3 separate regions of the Homo sapiens genome follow, and regions 1 and 3 are each linked to region 2. Evidence: promoter capture Hi-C in 16 types of primary human blood cells and fetal thymus (Javierre and others, 2016). All regions are on one chromosome and are shown on one strand. The core of a region is centred on a gene start or on the middle of the fragment in contact, and the rest is flanking DNA. Distances in the headings are between cores, read along the strand shown.

What was found. The method cuts DNA at HindIII sites, captures the fragments that hold promoters and counts their contacts. A CHiCAGO score of 5 or more calls a contact.
Region 1: a fragment that was not itself captured here is called in contact with the fragment with the promoter of EXOG in region 2 in 2 of 17 cell types (endothelial precursors and megakaryocytes); the score reaches 5.3 in endothelial precursors.
Region 3: a contact is called between the fragment with the promoter of DLEC1 here and the fragment with the promoter of EXOG in region 2, in 3 of 17 cell types (total B cells, naive CD8 T cells and fetal thymus). The highest score is 8.6, in total B cells.

Annotation. Positions count from the first base shown.
Region 1 is chr3:38,840,896-38,843,595 of GRCh38, reverse strand. No RefSeq gene overlaps it. Among named protein-coding and RNA genes, the nearest start is that of SCN10A, 26 kb to the right of the region's middle. The HindIII fragment of the contact is 4,023 bases long and covers 1-2,700 here.
Region 2 is chr3:38,495,049-38,497,748 of GRCh38, reverse strand. It overlaps EXOG (exo/endonuclease G), which reads right to left and starts at 1,409. Exons shown (of 6, transcript NM_005107.4): 1 at 1,219-1,409; 2 at 1-120. The coding sequence starts at 1,381. RefSeq lists enhancers at 1,081-1,150, 1,211-1,260. The HindIII fragment of the contact is 8,358 bases long and covers 1-2,700 here.
Region 3 is chr3:38,037,791-38,040,490 of GRCh38, reverse strand. DLEC1 (DLEC1 cilia and flagella associated protein) reads right to left here and starts at 1,283. Exons shown (of 37, transcript NM_007335.4): 1 at 855-1,283. The coding sequence starts at 1,265. RefSeq lists enhancers at 489-718, 1,009-1,218. The HindIII fragment of the contact is 3,706 bases long and covers 921-2,700 here.

The DNA.
Region 1 (2,700 bases), core at 63-2,562, 350 kb before region 2:
ATAAACCAGAAACATGCCTCTGCTCTGAGGACATGAATGAAGCAAGCTCACAGAAAGACCTCCTGAGAGAGGAGCATCTGAGATGGATGCGCTTGACAGGTATGTAGGATTTTGACAGGTGAACCTGGTTTTGGAGGGTGTTTGAAGTCGGGGAGACAGTACAGGCAGCTCAATGGCAACTAGAAAGTGTGAGGAAGTATGAATTACCCAACTGACTGGACATGGAGTATAGGGAGTGGAGCAGCAGCAACTGAATCTTAGACACAGACATTTGTGGAGAGCCTCAAATGCCAGAGTGAGGAGTTCTAGCGTATTTTGATAATAAGAAGGCATTGAAGGTGTTTTAGCAGGGAAGAAAAATAACTGGATAGAATGTGCAAGGTGGAATGGAGAAAAACAAGGTCTGATCCTGGTAGGGAAGAGGCACTGAGCCAGGAAGGAGGTGAGGGCAATGCGGTGTGATTCCAAGATGCTTGTGCCAGCTGCCTGACCATGAGGGAGGACAAGATAGATGACAGTAAAGGGTACTAAGTTAATAGCATAGGAGGAGCAAGGGTTGGAGTTTGTTTGTTTGTTTTAATGGCTGAGGAAGAACATCTAAAATGTAATTCAATTTTAAATATTTTGAAAGTTTAAGATGTCAGGTCTAACTGACAATGCCCAGCCAAGACTTGAACTTGAGGACAAGGTGTGGACAGGAGTCTTCGGTGCAAAGGTGATGTCTGAAACCCCAGGAGCAGACATCATGGGAGAGAGAGAGTACACCCAGCTCTAGAAGCAGGCAAGGGACTTGCCCTGAGGGTATGTTTTCAGGGAATGAAGGTGAAGAGGAGTGAGACAGTTCAGAGAAGAATGTGGGGTAGTAGGTGACAGTAAATACCATGACATGTAATGTGAGAACAGAGCAGGCTTCCTTGGAGAAATTGGGTCAACAAGATGAGATACACAGTCCCACCTTTTCATCCCTTCCACCAAGCAGCATGCAGGATCCAGGAAAGAATCCCACCCCTTATTGCTCTACCTTTTTATAGGGCGAAGATGAGAGCTTGCCTTATAAACAATTGGGCCAGGGAGCCAGCTATTCCAGGGAGCAGTCTTGGAATGTCAGTTTCTAACACCCAATGCCCTTGGGGATCCGAAATCCTGTATAGCTACTCCTGCTCAAGGAGGGTAAGCCACTGATTCCAGATTGCTTGTTGCCTGGCAACCCAGATAGAACCTCCGGGGTCATTGAATGGGCAATCCTGTCCCTTGATACACAAGGAGTAATCAAAGTAGCACTGAGAAAACAAGAGCTAACATTTATTGAGCACTTACTCTGGGCCAGGTAACCACTTTACCAGCCTTACCTCTTCACAATATCTCTATTAGGTAGAAACTATTTGTAACCTTCATTATACAGATGAGGAAACTAAGGCATGTAGAGGAAATAAGAGGCTTCTTCGAGAGCCAGTAAGAGGTTTTGTCAGGATTCAAACCCAAGCATTCTGGCTCTAGGTCTCAAGCTATCAACCACTATACTGCACTGCCTCTCAGACAAAAAGAGACAATGTGCTTGATGTTAAACAGAAGGTACAGGGTTTTCTTGCTAGTGTCTGTGAACCTTTTGCATCCATTTCTTTTTCTCTCAAAGTAATGCATGTTTTTAAAGTTGTCTTTACAATGTGGAAACTCACACTGGGGAGATGCTGTGCTCCCTCTCCAAATTTAATATACTCAGTTCTGTAGATGTATTTGGTCCCCTAATATTTTGACAGAGCTTCCATCCTTTTTCTATTCTCTCCCTTCTTCAGGCAATCTATGGTTAATCTATCTCTTCTAAATATGGTTAATCTATCTCTTCTAAAACCAGGTGCCCAGGTTTTAGAAGAGCAGGGAGCAATGGAACATCTTTTCCTTTTGGACAATAGACTTCTATTAATGTAGACTACAACTGTACTAGTCTGACTGTAGTGCTACCAAGAGGTATCCTGGGGGTACTAATTTAGCTTCCTTTAATCTGCACCAATCCCCCAATTCAAGATACTCTGAATGAGCATACAGGCTAAGTAAAAACACTGTGTCATTGGTGCCAGTGCAGCTTCAAGTTCCCCTGCCCCCTTTCCATACTCTAAGTTCTTCCTATATTTTAAGTATAGGAGGTATATTGGAGCTATAGGACTATAGGAAATATACCTGGAGCCAAATCATGCTGATGGCTCATATTCTATTGATTCATGAGCCCTAGTTAGACTTCTACGCAGTTTTTCTCCTAAATTAATGTTTTAAAGAGCAATACTTGAAAAAAAAATTGCTTTGGATCTAAGTGAAGGTCTCAGTAATGTTCTGGATCATCCATTTTCACATTGAAGTTTGAAAAGAGAGGTTTCTACTATTCCATGGGAGGGCACCAAAGCCTCAAGGGATGGACCACTAATCAGGGGAGACATCAAGTGAGGGAAACGCCCTGCCTGGAGTTGGGAGTGACCACTCCAGGACTGAGTGAAAATATAAAAAGGTATAGGAGACTTGAACAAAACTATCAGCCAACTTGCTCTGATTTTTATAGAACTCAGTAAGAACAAAATACACATTATTTTTAAGTACTTATAGAACATTTACCAAGATGGGACTATAAAATGTCTCAATAAATTTTAAATATTCAAATCCTAAAAATATGTTTTCAATCACAATGGAATTGAATTAGAAATCTATAACAGA
Region 2 (2,700 bases), core at 160-2,659:
GAACCCATCTAGGCACCCGCTTTGCCTGATCATAAGACAAAGCGTGATTAGTGTAACACCTTGCCTCTGTTCCAGTTAAAGGGAATCCAAATTGTTCCAAGACAGCCTTTTCTGCAGATCCTAAAAATGAAAAAAAAAAAAAAAGGGGGGGCAGAGACAAAAAAAACACACACACACAATTAGTGGCTCTTAATAATGAAAGATTATAAGGAAAAGGAGAGCGGTGTGATTTACAAAGGACTGGCTCAGAAGTCTAATCAACCAGAAAATCTCATTTTTGCAATTACTTATGAGATGAAGAAAACAGACAGTAGGCAAAGTACTGATTTGCCTATAATCAGTGAATAAAATGCAGCTACTGCATTAACTTTTGAATAAAGACTTGATCTTATTAGTCTTTCACATCAAATTTCCAAATCATCTCTGAAGCACTGATATGTGTGCTGTTGCAAGATGACAGTAAAACTGGTACTGTTTTTCCTAGTGGGAGAAACCAAGCACACATTCAGCAGTGAGTCAGTTTCGAGATAATCCTCCCCGATGCCTTCTCAAATCCTCAACCCCCCAAGGGGGTAGTTCTCTTGCTAGATGCCAAGTATCCAAAGGAGCAAGTTAAATTAGCACATCCGCAAAGTACAAGAAATGAGCTCGTGTTAATTTTTTTTTTTTTTTTGTCAAATATAAGGTACCCATTGCAACATGAGTTTTTATACACTTTGGAGGGATAGCAGGTATTCTTCAACTGAACAATGACGAAAGAAGGGCAGTTAACTCATCTACTAAAATTATGTATTAATTTATTCCTTCATTCATACTTACTGAATGCCAATTATGTACCAGGTACTGTGCTGGTTAGATGATGGAGACCAAAACAGACATAGTCTCAAGTCTTATGGAGCTAACAATCTTAGTAGAGAACACAGACATTAAAACATAGATATCGCGATGAGTAACTGGGGGGAAGAAAGTCGGGCGGCGGGGGTGGTTCTGTGCAGAAAACGAAGATGCCCGGGGGAAGGAAGGACATGAGGGAAGCTGGCGAGACGCGAGGTGGGGAAGGGAGGCCGAGCCGGGAGAATAAAGGTCAGAAACCAAGGGCCAGGCTAGGGGCCCAGCAAACGGTGAAGGCTGTCCGTCAAGGACTGCCATTCACACTCCAGGTAGGAGTCGGAGCCCGAAATCTGGGCCAGCGAAGGGAGGACGGGCCCACAGACTTACCATCCGGCTGCTTCCCTGTCAACGCTCCCTCAGCGCCCTGACTCCGGAAGAACTGCAGGGCCGCGAGCCCAGCTCCCGCAGCGCCCACTACAGCCCCAGCCACGAAGCCGCTCAGAAAACGACGGGAACCCCGGAGGCGGGAAGCGATACTCTTGATAGCCATCTTGCCCGAGGTACCGGCCTTTTACCACGGCGCATGCGCGCGCATGCCGGCCCCCGCCATCCCCCCGTCACCCCACGCCTCACCGCCCGCCAAGCTGAGGGCCTCGCACGCCCCCTGGTGACAAACCGGGATGCCTAGCGCATCCCCGCTTCATCCCTGGTCCACTGGACGGGGCGATGGATGGGGAATATGATGTCTAGAGGGCTTAGTGGTATGCTATATATAGTCATGAGAAGAAAATACCTTTAGTCTCATTTAATAGGTGAGTAAACACTTGCGCATGGTTACACTAAGGTCTCCAGAGCCGATATTCCAACTCAGGTCTATTTATTTATTTAGCGACAGGGTCTCTGTTACCCAGGCTGCAGTACAGTGGAATGATCATAGCTTACTGCGATCTCGAACTCGTGGGCTCAAGCGATCCTCCTGCCTCAGCCTCCTGAGTAGCTGGGACTACAGGCACGTGCCACATTGCCCGGCTAAATTTTTGGCGGGAGTGGGGGAGCGGTAAAGAAGGGGGTCTCCTTATGTTGCCCAGGCTGGTATCCAACTTCTGGCCTCAAGCAATCTTCCCGCCTCGGCCTCCCAAAGTGCTGTAAGTCCAGGTGTGTGTCACTGTCCCCAACCTTCTCTTTTAAATTGGAATAATAATACTTAGACCATAGCGTTCTTGTGAGGATTAAAGGAGATGACACATGTAAAATGTTTAGGGAAGTACCAGGGGCATGTCACTAAGTGCTCTATAAATGTTAGAAATGTTTGAGTCATCTCTACTCTTTGTCTTGATAGAATATAAAATCCAGATTGCTGAACGCCTGCTGGCAAAGAAAGGATAGATTTCATGGACTACCACTCACAAACAAATGAGTCTTCATTTTGCAGCATGATCTCTAGCATTCCGTGTGGACTTAGTTCTTAGCAGAAACTTCAAGTTTCCTATTTCTTAGATAACTGGTAGGAATAACTTTCATCTGATCCCACTGATGATTCACTGACCAGGAGGCCACTTCTAACAACCTACTGAAGTGTGCACATTATTTTGACAGCCTCAAATGGGAGGCTACCCCCTTGCCAGGAATACCTCTTCTGAAGGACCCTGACTGGTTAAGCTACATCAACCAGAGTCCTTCCTAGGGATTTTCGATCTAGTAGTCTCTCTGGGTAGCAAAGCTGTGACGTAAAACTCACAGGCGCAGTGGCTCATGCCTGCAATCCCAGCACTTCGGGAGGCCAAGACTGGAGGATCACCTGAGGTCAGGAATTTGAGACCAGCCTGGCCAACATGGTGAAACCCCGTCTCTACTAACAATACAAAAATC
Region 3 (2,700 bases), core at 34-2,533, 460 kb after region 2:
TACTGTATAGGTATTCATTTTGTTAATGTCTATCTACCTCAGTTAGGTTGAAAGCTACAGAGGACAGGTTGCGTGTGTGAGTGTGGGTGTGCCCGAACACTGGCGTTTTTATTCACTGCTGAATCCCCACTGCCTAGAACAGAGTATGACACCCAGCAGACATTCAACAAATGTGTTAAGTGAAGGAATGACTGAAGCTAACGACGTGGGATGCATGTCACTTAAGGGGCAGGTAGAGGACAGAACAGAAAGGAGAAGAAGAAGATCTGAGAGGCAGGAAGCACACCGGGGTAAAGGATCGGGTATGGGAGGAGTGCCCACAAGTTTAAGGGAGTCTTCAGTAGTGTGGCCAGCAGAGGCCGACTCAGCACAGAGGCCGCGAGTCAGCTGGTTTTCTCCTTGTACAGATGAGGAAGCAGAGTTGCTGTTCTAGAGGCTAGACACGCTTCCTAAAATCTGCGCATGAATGGCCCAGTCAAGATTGTGGTTTGTGATACAAAGGCACCCCAAAGCCGGGTGACTTTTGGCTTTATCCTCTCCATGGAACAACTATTCAGCGGTCTGCCGCAGTCGTTCATTGATATATGCAATATATAACGTATGTGTCTAGAGAAATATAGACAGGTGCTACAGATATATGCCGCACGTTGTGTGGTATGTGTGGTATTTGCGCATGTGTGTGTATGGATAGAGCGTCCTTCCACTAGAATGTCGGGCCCACTTCGGCATGATGGGCTGTTTCTCAACTGCAGCCCCAGATCCTGGAACAGCGCCTGGCACCTGGCAGGTGCTGACGCGTGCCGAGCGCTGAGACCCCGGCACCGTCCGCAGACGCGACGCCACCGCCACGTTACCTGCTGCAGCTGGTCCACGAACTCCTCGTGGCGCTCATTCTCGCTGCCGCGGGCCTTGATCAAGCTTGCGCTCACTTCGTCGCCGATGACCTCGGCTGAGTACAAGTTGCGGAAGACGCCGGTGAGCAAGTGCGAGATATCTTGGGTGCGCAGCGAGGAGGGGCGCAGACGAAGCAGCTGAGGCTCGGGACGCTGCGCCAGCGCAAGCTGCGTGAGGCGGCGGGGCCGGGCTGCGAAGCTGTAGTGGAAGGCCTCAGAGTAGGCGAGGGAGGAATACAAGGAGGACTTCCAGGTGGGCTGGCTGGGGCTGCTGGACCCGGCTGGTGGCGAAGTTGGCGCCCACATTGTCCCCTGGCACTCGTTGGTCCGGGACGCTAAAGACCTCCGCGTTTTGGAGCTCCTGGTCTCCATGGCAACCGAGACGCCGCTAACTCCCTGCGGCACTTCGGCTTCCGGCCTCACCCCTTCCGCCTTGCCTTTCTCTCGGATCCCGTCATCGCTGTGGTCATTGTAAACATTTGTGTCTTCAGCATTGTCCTTTTAAAAGTGAGCTTACTAAGTGTGAGGACCCATGAAGAAAGGTTTAATTGACACAGCCAGGCCTATCTGCAAAACCTTGTACCTAACTACCTACCTTCATCCATTCTTTAATTTGTTAAGCAACTGTTCATTCACTCATCATATTTATTGTGTAAAGATTGTGTTTCAGGTCTGTGCTGATTGCTGAAGATACCAAAGAAGTATGATGCTGCTTCTGCCTTCAGGAAGTGCACAGTCGTGTATGTGTGTGTTTGTGATGATGGCGGTGGGTGTGGAGGTAAAAGTAAAACAACTGTACTTTAGTGGGTTAAGGCCAAGGTGGAGATAAATATTGGTTGTCATGGAACTACAAAGGAGGACAGGAACTTAGTCTGTAGAAGGAGCGATTACTTCTTGGAACAAATGAAAACCAAGCAGAGATTTCAAAGAAGGAGTAGACTGAACATCATTAGTCATCAAAGAAGTGGAAATTAAAACCACAATGCAGTACTACAGTTAGTAGAATGACAAAAAACAAAAAAGTACCTAAATAAGAGCGTGTGTGTGGTGGCTCACACCTGTAATCCCAACACTTTGGGAGGCTGAGGCACGAGGATCACTTGAAGCCAGGAGTTTGAGACCAGCCTGGGCAACATAGGGAGACCCCATCTTTACAAAATATTTAAAAATGTGGGAAGGACGGAATGAAATTCAGGAGGAGTGGAACTTAAAGAGTGTGAGGGTGGAGGAATGACACTGATAGGTTAGGGCCAGATCATAAGTGGGTTGGTAGGCCACAATAGGGAATTTGGACTTTATTTTGAGGGCAGTAGGAGGTTCATCAAGGGTCTTAAGCTGGGGCATGTCATGGTCAGCTCTGTTTTACTAAGATCATTCTGATTGCTATGAGAATAGACAGGAGAGGCAAGAGGCATCAGGAAGTTCAGTTAGGAAACTAGCACAGAAGTTAGGAAAGAGATGAAGGGAGATTGGATGAGAGAGAGGGAACTGGATTGGAGATAGATCCAAAAAGTAGAATTGATAAGACTTGCTGGTGGATAATGGGAGGTAAGAAACAGGCACCAAGAATGACTCCCAGGTATCCTGTGTGTGCAATCAGGGGGGTGATGACAGCATCACTGAGATGGAAAAGAGGACTGCATTTGTCCAGGGCAGCAGCATAACATCACATTGACTGTTGTCATTTGCACACCATGGCTTTTGCTCACAGGTGATACAACCAACCACTTTCTACTCCACACTGAGTTTGCTTGCCTTACATCCTGAAACCCACTTCCAGAGATGAGTGCTAGCATGCTTGCCCACA